3 separate regions of the Homo sapiens genome follow, and regions 2 and 3 are each linked to region 1. Evidence: promoter capture Hi-C in 16 types of primary human blood cells and fetal thymus (Javierre and others, 2016). All regions are on one chromosome and are shown on one strand. Each heading gives the region's core, a stretch centred on a gene start or on the middle of the fragment in contact. The rest is flanking DNA. Distances are from core to core; before and after follow the strand shown. Region 1 holds the start of ELMOD2 (ELMO domain containing 2). Region 2 holds the start of MGST2 (microsomal glutathione S-transferase 2). Region 3 has its middle 5.5 kb from the start of SETD7.

Region 1 (2,796 bases), core at 27-2,526:
CAAAGAAATAAACATTTTTTTTTCCTGGAGGAGGGAAACATACAAGACAAGCTTAATGACCTTAAACTGAATTTTAAAATTTAAAAAGTTTATACAACTGATCAAATCTCAAATTATGTATCTATCATTTCATTGTGTCTGTTTTGACAGTTTAATTAGGCATTTAAAAACAATGGCAGGTGTAATATATACCGCTATTAATTGATGATCAAATGGCCAATTAATCACTTTTTCAAAACTAAAATTCAAACAATGTACTCAAACTATTCAATGGCTTGAAAGAGTAACAGAATGGTTTGCACTTTTTGCTAAATAATTGTATTTCATATCTTAGTTTCCTAACTTCCCATTCTTTGAGAACTGGGGCTCAACAGTTCAAGATCAAGAGGACTCCAACTAATCAACAATTAAAATATATACCAAAACATCAGAGTTGTTTTTATAGAATACACTCTTCTTATCCCATGTGGATAATTCGTTACAACTGTCCCAGTCAGGTGATGCCAGCAAATAAAAACACTACAAACTTAAGTATACAAGTTGAACACTGAGTATATAACACCTTAGCTCATTCTTGATTTTCCATTCAATAGGTCAAGGGCAGAAATACTAACAAGTTTTTGTTTTGCTAAGTACACACTCGATACAACTATATCTTATGCCATAAGAAAATTCTTCAGCTTCTAAATGAAAAAGTCAGGGAGATACTAGTGAGAGGGAGATACTTAAAAACAAAATTGCTCGTCTCCTTCCTGCCTTAAACATTCCCACAGACACGTCACCTCTGGACTAGGGCCTGAGGAGGGACTGTCGAAGTTCGAAGTACCCGCAGGTCAGTGCAGAAAGAGCGCATAGCACAGCTGGGTTGATCATTATCTTGAAAATCAAGCCATCTAGTCCGCGCTCATTAGGACAAAAGCGCAGAACTGCCGAGCAGAGGGGATGCACGCGTAGCGGCGCCTGAGCACCCCAGGGCTCTGGGCGTCTCTGCGCCGACCCCCCTCGCGCGCCGCCCGCGAATGGGAGGGCAGGGCTCGCACAAAGACCCGCCGGCCCAGGCGCCCCCGGGTTCCCGCAGAACCCCGCGGGGCTCGCGAGCCCGCGCGCTCTCAGTGCAGCCGCACCGAGGCATCCGGGGCAAGAGGAAAAGAAACAGCAGCCACCTCACAGGAGCGGAAGAACTAGGGGGAGCAGGAGCTGCCTCGGTTTCCCCACTGCAAACAGCCGGCAACGGAAACGACGGAACACTCCCTTCAAGCACCGCGACCCGGAAGTCAGGGAGCGAGGCCGCGGACCCGCCTTCCCAGGGCCACTGCCCGCCCCGCCCCTCCGGCCTCTTCCGATTGGCCCGCGCTCCACCTATTGCTAACGCTGGAGAGAGGTCGAGCTGAGTGGCCCAGGCGCGAGGGCTCAGATACTAGGGACGCCCAGACGGTTTCCCTGGCAACGGCGGCCAGGAGCCCCGCCCCGCGCCGGAGTAGCGCCTCCTAGCGCTGCGCTGGAGACTTTTCCCTCCTTGAACCTCAGGTCCTTAGCGCGGGTTGACACCTTGTACTATTCCTAGGCTCCAAGCGCGGAAGAAACCCTGTGCTTACGGTAACTTATAGTGCCTTAGTTACAAAAGCGCTTTCATCTGCATTGAATCTTAATTCTGTGAAGTAATTATGAATAACTCCACTTTATGCACGAGAAAAGGGAACCGGCTACTTGACTGTGGCCAATACGTGGCAGATGAGGAAAGTCCATGTGTTGAGAAACGAAGTTTGGACTTTATCCTATAATACTATAGGTCTAAAAGTTAATTTATCAAATGTTTATTCCCTAACTGGTTGTTTTTGTTGAAAAAGTAATTTCGTGATTACTTTTTAAAAACCTCAAGCAGTAAGTTTCTTAATTCAACAAGTATTTGTTGATTGTTAGCACAGGCAGTGTTCCAAAAGGCAGTCAAACACGAAACAAACAGCCAAATATTTAATATGTCAGATGCTACTAAATGTTAAGGGTATAGGGGTTGTTAGCTAAGGGGTAATGGGGAGTCTGTGGGGGAAGTCATTGCATACAGTGTGGTCAAGGAAGTCTCATTATTAACGTGGCATTTTGGCCTCATTGAACGAAGTAAGGGAGTTTACTGTGGGAGTATCTGGAGGGAGAGTGATCCAGGCACCAGAATGACAAGTGCAAAGACCTTGAATTGGGAGGGTTTTTGAAATGTTGGAGGAAGAGCAAGAAGGCCGGGGTGGCTGGAGGAGAAAGAGCAAGGGGGAGAGTAGAATATAAATACAAAGGACAACTGATACTGAAAACAAATTTCCCCATCCACCCAAAACTCCTGATACCTCCGTCACCTTGCTCAGAAGCAACCAGTATTACTTTCTTGTTTCTAATTCCAAAAATATTATATGCAAGTGTATATATGTATATTCCTTCCAACTCCTTGAATTGAAGCAAGTGATACATACTTTCCCACATCTCAACCAGCGTTTAAAAAATGGACTAATTGTAGAACACTAGCCATGTGCAGGGTGCATAAGCCGTCATCCCTGTCCCATACCAACAATGAACTTGGTAATGAAGTCTGGATAGACACTACAATAGTAAAATCACAGAATCTTAAATCTTAAAGAGAACTTATAACTATCATCTAATGTAATTTTTAAAATTATAGATTAAAAGATTTAGAAAGGCAAAGTGCACAGCCGATTTGGCAAATTGACCTGTAAACTAACTTCTATTTCAGGAGGATCTCCATTATTACACAAACTTTTACATAGTAGAAGGTGAGATAATTCTATATGT
Region 2 (2,926 bases), core at 26-2,525, 860 kb after region 1:
AAACTCAGTTAAATGTAATTTGTCTAGGGTTTTCCTTTTAACAGATCTAAGTGCTTCTTTAATTAGAAACAAATATCCTGCTCTTCTCCACAACAGATTGTGTGAATCAAACCACAAAACGTGAGTCTGAAGGTTCAAGATCTTCATACAATCTCAAAACAGACTGGCTAGGCAAGACATTGAGCATGCACGGAGGCCTGGACTGGATCCTCAGCTGTGAGGCCTTCCTGCTTCTGGCTGTTTGTGTAACCTGAGCAGTCTACGGCTTGGCCCTATTTCCTGGTACAGGCATACTTGGAAATATAAAGAAATATGCATGCTTGGTAAGAAGTCTTGCACTCTTGCACTCGGACCCCTTTCCCCAGCTGACATTGTAGGTAAGATAATATGAATTGAGCAAATGTGACTCCCATGGAGTAAAAGCCCTCTATTTAACCAGGCAGTCGAGATATTGAATAATCCTAGTGGGAAGCTGTTTTAAAATTTAGAGCTAATTACTTAATCTAAAGCTAATATTTCTGAAGGAAGTTTTTTTCAATCTGATAATCATACCACCATAGGCAGTTTATTTAAGAAAACACATTAATTAAAACATCAACGTTCAAGAAATCACAACCAGGTTTAGAAGCAGGCACGTTTCCTTTGGAACACTTGTAATTAATATTCACACCACTTCCTGCAGGTTAGCAGGCTACTAACGCTCGTTTGAACGGGCTGTGGGTCGTAATCACAGATGATGCAGAATCGCTGAGCTCTGAGGCCCCACAGCGTTCCAGTTGGGAGAACTAATCTCTGGAATGTTCTCAGTCTCTGCTTGCCCCTGGGAAGGAGGGTAGCAGGCGGCATGGGTGACCCTGAGGCGACTGTGCTCTGAGGACCCAGAGCTACCTGCAAGGGCAAGTAGGAAACAAAACACCGGACCCATCTCCCTCCCTCCCTCTCTCTCCCGCAAGCCTTGTCACACACACACACACACGCACACACGCGCACACACACGAACTTCCCATGCCTCTTACTTTGCTGACAGGCCGAGAGAATAGAGACAGCAGCCAGCAGGATCGAGTTCCCGGCCATCTTTCTCACGGAACTATTTGTAGAGCGCACGGGAAGATAAATGGCGCTTCTTGACTTTGAATGCTGACCTTCCTTATCGGGTAAACAAAGTTGGGGACCGGGTGGGGGGAAAAGGCTGATTCAAGCGGCTGAATGACCTTTGCTCTGGAACAGAAGTCAGGAAGGCAGGCAGGTCTGGGGCTGCCGGTCACAGATCTTTATGGGGCTGGGAGTTGCTTCCGGCGTTTGTTTTAAGCCTCTCCCACGGCCAGCGGGCAGGGCTGTAGCTCACTGTGGGACCAGCCCTCCAGCCGCAGTGCCAGTTACACTATCTTCTCTGCCAATGCACAGACTCTCTGGATCCCTTTCATCCCCACGCCCTTCCCTCCTAGGGCCTTGCTGAGACCTTTCTCACCTCCTGTGGAAAAAGTGAGAAGGAACTACTTACTTAATCCTGTTGACATTTTAAATGCTAATTTAAGCCAGTTCTAATGTATTCACGCTCTGAATGGCCGATTTAGGATTTGAACCCAGTCTAGCAGATTACAACTGTGCCCTATCCCCTGCACCAGGCTGCCTCTCACTGTCACCTAGAGACTCTGATAATAATCATACTTTTTTTTTTTAAGACAGGGTCTTGATCTGTCACCCAGGCTGGAGTGTGTGGTGGCACGATCATAGCTCACTGCAGCCTCCAACTCTTGGGCTTAAGTAATCCTCCTGCCTCAGCCTCCCAAGTAGCTAGAACTACAGCCACAAGTCACTGTGCCCAGCCATTTTTAAAAAAATAAACCGGCCGGGCGCGATGGCTCACACTTGTAATCCCAGCACTTTAAGAGGCCAAGGAGGGTGAATCACGAGGTCAGGAGATCAAGACTATCCTGGCTAACACAGTAAAACCCCTTCTCTACTAAAAATACAAAAAATCAGCTGGGCATGGTGGCACGAACCTGTAGTCCCAGCTACGCAGGAGGCTGAGGCAGGAGAATCTGCTCTTTAGAGATGCAGATTCTGGCCTGGAAGGATGGCTCATGCCTGTAATCCCAACAGTTTGGGAGGCTGAAATGGGCAGATGGTTTGAGCTCAGGAGTTCGAGACCAGCCTGGGTAACATGGCAAAACCCCATCTCTTAAAGAAATACAAAAATTAGCAGGGCATGGTGGCACGTGCCTGTAGTCCCAGCTACTTAGGGGGCTGAGGCAAGGGGATTGCTTGAACCCAGGAGCCTGAGACTGCAGTGAGCCAAGGTCGTTCCACTGCACTTCAGCCTGGGTGACAAAGTGAGACCCTGTCTCAAACAAATAATAAAAATAAAGATGCAGCTTCCCAAAAACCAGAGCTGGGGGCCTTTCCTCACCCCATCCTACAGCACCATTAGAGGGTATATCTTGGCTCAAGCTGCTATAACAAAGATACCATAGACTGGGTGGCTTACAATAGCAATTTATTCGTCACAGTCCTGAAGGCTGGGAAGTCCAAGATGACAGTGCTGGCCAATCAGTTCCTGGTGAGGGCCCTCTTCCTGGTTTGCAGAAGGACACCTTCATGTTGGAGACAGAGAAAGAGTAAGCTTCCTGGTCACTTCTTATAAGGGCACAGATCCCATTATGGGGGCCTATGCTCATAACCTCACCTGTAGCTAATTATCTGCCAAATGCCTGATAACATCACGTTGGGGGTTAGGGTCTCAACATATGAATTGCAGAGGGGACACAAACATTTAGTCCCTAGCAGGGAGCTCCCAGTGTCTTCTGGGGAGGGCAGTTGCCTCAGCCTCACACAGACCCTACAATTTAATAACACAACCTTGGGCCTCTCTGAGCCTCCATTTAATAAGATAGGGCTAATAAGAGCTGAAGAGAAGTTTAAATGA
Region 3 (3,087 bases), core at 446-2,945, 960 kb after region 1:
AGGTTGGGAAGTGATGCTTATAACTTCAGAAGACCTACTCTCAACTGGCATTTTTCTCCAAGGAGACAGTACAAGGCCTACCACAGGGCTGCTTTCTTTTTGGTCCTCTATCTTGAGCACAGGAGCATTTGAGCAGGGCTCTTTAAATTTGTCTGAAAGACATTCCAAAAGTTGGCCACAGCATCTTTTCCCAAGAATTGATCTATGGACTCAGCAAGGAGGATCAATAAGACCTTAAATGACCTGAAAGGACACGCCAGATCCAAAGAGGCTGCAAGACAGGTCTCCAGCAAATACATACAGGAAGGGCTGGCTTAGCATCAAGCACCTCCGGGTGAGGGCTGCCTGTAGATCGAGGGTTGTCATTTCAGTGCCAGGTCCCAGAAACACTCTAATCAACCTGTCTTTGTTTGTGACTGAGTGAAGAGGACCACATGGGTATTTTCATTTCTGGATATTGGATTCAAAGCCAGACAGTCCCATTTGGAAAATGAAGAGGACACTTTGCCCTCCATCTATGTTATAGTAGATGGAATCTGCATCCTCAAGGTGGCGTTCCGTTGCCTAAGCTATCATAGCAAAGAGCCAACCTCTCCACTCCTGCACAGAATAGAAATATCTTTGAGCTGAGTGCCCAGGAAAACTTGGATGACTGTATCACAGGACAGGCCACGTGGGTCTTAATATGTCTCTGGTCTCTTTCTCAGAAATCATGGTAGCCTAAGAAGGTTGGCCCACTGTTGATGGCTTGTGAAGCAGAAATGAGGTGCTTTCCCAAGAACTTGAGAACCAGGTTGCTCTCAGAAAGTTTGACTACCAAAATCTGCACACTCAATGGTTTTGACTAGAATTCAGTGGGCATAAACCAAGAGAGTGACTCAATTTGTGACTGAGAAGTTTGAGGATTACCTCAAATTCCCATTAAAGTGACTTGGCTGTAATGCCAGGAAGATAGAGAATGTCATTATGACTTAGAAAGTGTAAATCTGCCTAATGGGCTGTATAGGACGCTGTGTGGAGAATCAGGTTTGGAGAAACTAGAGCACGGAGAAAGAAGCTTGAAGCCTCAGAAGCCATAGGGCCCATCTAAGCAGAGGTGAGTGGGATGGGTGGGCAGCCTCATTCTTTCAGAACACTGTATCAGAGTATTTGTCTTGTGGACCACACAACTAATGTCCTTCATTCTACTCCAGATAACTAAGCAAACTTTTGGATGGAATTTGTCTTCTCAAGTGCATTTATTTATATAGAGAGATCTTTTGCCCTGACAGTGTGAGTATTCTGATCTGTCCATCATAATTCAGGCATACATCTCAGTCTCTCGGGGTCTAGTTAATGTGAGTCCACTTGAGGAAGGTCAAGAGCTGACCCTTGATGAATGTTATGACATTTGTGGTAAATAGGTCAGCTGGAAATACTCCTCTGCCCATCCTGGATATTGTAGTGTCAAAAGAGTATACCATGTACCTGCCCTCTGCAATGTCTACTTTTGCAGAGGACCAATTGCAGGACTCAATAATCTTAATTTTAGCCTAGTAAAGTAATTTTTCAAAAACAATTAGAGAAAATAATATCTATGAAAACACATTTGGTTTTGGTGGCGGTTTGTCTTTATTTTTCAAGTTTCTGCAATCCTATTGTTTTTCTAAAGTAATTTCTAAAACAGATGCCCCTTTGAAAACTATTTCCAATTTTTCTTTGTGTGTGTGTGTGTGTGTGTGAGGGTTTTTTTTGTTGTTGTTTGTTTTTTTGAGATGGAGTCTCACTCCGTGGCCCAGGCTGGAGTGCAGTGCAGTGATGCCATCTCGGCTCATTGCAGCCTCCGCCTCCCAGGTTCAAGTGATTCTCCTTCCTCAGCCTCCCAAGTAGCTGGGACTACAGGCATGCACCACCAGTTTTTGTATTTTTGTAATTTTTGTATTTTTAGTAGAGACAGGGTTTCACCATGTTGGCCAGGCTGGTCATGAACTCCTGACCTCAGGTGATCCACCTGCCTCTGTCTCCCAAAGCGCTGGAATTACAGGCGTGACCCACCGTGCCTGGCCTCATTTTTTTTTTTTCAATCATTTCACTCAGCAGCTTCACTAGGCCCAAGCCTGACATAAGAGTTTTCATATCCCATAATGCAAAAAACCCCAAGAACTCTGTGAAGGAACAATATTGGCCCAGAGTCGACCCAAACAGGGAGATCTGGGCTGCATCTTCCCTCCCCTCCCCGCCCCAGAAAGTCTAAATTTAGTTTACTGGATACCCTGCAATGACATTAACATGTCATTGCAACATTAACATGTTGCAAAAACAAGAATCAAGCAAAAGAGAAAGAGGAAGCTTAATGTGGCATGAGGTATTTTAATACCATGGCAACTGTGGTGTCTTCTCTATTATTTAATTCACTTCCTTAGGTCAGGTTATTCTGCCCTCTCTCTCTTGCACTTCCTGTTGCTGTAATCAAATCAGGTCACCCTGAATCTGTAAGTCTTCTTCCTGACTGCACTCATGTCTATTTCCAGCAGAATGAATTTTCTCCATTTCTTTCTTTGCTCCCTGGACCTTTATTTGGTGCCCTTGATGTCCCTGCTCTTCCCAGTGCTCCACAAGCTGCAAACGCTTCCCTTTCATCCCCATCTCCTCCCCCACCCGTCTCCTCCTCGCTGCTCCTCTCCCAGCCCCTCCCTCCAGCTTCTGCAGTTGTCACTAACACAGTTAGCCACTTGATTAGTGACTCAGTGATTCAGAACCCAGGAACCTTGGTTCTCCTAAAACTTCCATGCTTCCCTCCCTAGAGTCAAGATAAAGGTTCTCCCCTCACCTGCCTGCCCAGATAGAGCCATTAACGTGAGAGGACTTGAGTATTCAGTTTGTTGGAGTTGCCCTGGCTTCTTCCCATTTCCTTTTTATGTGCCTTTTCCTGGGGCTTCTCAGGCTCTATTTACCTTTTCTCCAGAAAAGGTGGACAGAGAAGGTTTGAGCTTCGAATTTATGTAGCCCAACTCTTCATTTACAGATGGGAAAACGAAGGCCCCCCCCCCGGCCCCCGCAGAACTGAATTGCCCAGTTGCTTGGCTAGTTCTTGGTGGAACCAAAACA

Evidence for each region. Contacts are between HindIII fragments. The CHiCAGO score rates a contact against its expected background, and 5 or more counts as called.
Region 2: a contact is called between the fragment with the promoter of MGST2 here and the fragment with the promoter of ELMOD2 in region 1, in 8 of 17 cell types (fetal thymus, activated CD4 T cells, erythroblasts and 5 more). The highest score is 15.3, in fetal thymus.
Region 3: a fragment that was not itself captured here is called in contact with the fragment with the promoter of ELMOD2 in region 1 in 1 of 17 cell types (total B cells); the score reaches 5.4 in total B cells.

Annotation. Positions count from the first base shown.
Region 1 is chr4:140,522,648-140,525,443 of GRCh38, reverse strand. ELMOD2 (ELMO domain containing 2) reads right to left here and starts at 1,276. Exons shown (of 9, transcript NM_153702.4): 1 at 1,164-1,276; 2 at 1-24. The coding sequence starts at 15. RefSeq lists silencers at 915-1,034, 1,225-1,574. The HindIII fragment of the contact is 7,186 bases long and covers 54-2,796 here.
Region 2 is chr4:139,664,168-139,667,093 of GRCh38, reverse strand. MGST2 (microsomal glutathione S-transferase 2) reads right to left here and starts at 1,275. Exons shown (of 5, transcript NM_002413.5): 1 at 1,017-1,275. The coding sequence starts at 1,074. RefSeq lists enhancers at 1,051-1,220, 517-1,716. The HindIII fragment of the contact is 3,780 bases long and covers 1-2,625 here.
Region 3 is chr4:139,560,167-139,563,253 of GRCh38, reverse strand. No RefSeq gene overlaps it. Among named protein-coding and RNA genes, the nearest start is that of SETD7, 5.5 kb to the right of the region's middle. The HindIII fragment of the contact is 1,271 bases long and covers 1,060-2,330 here.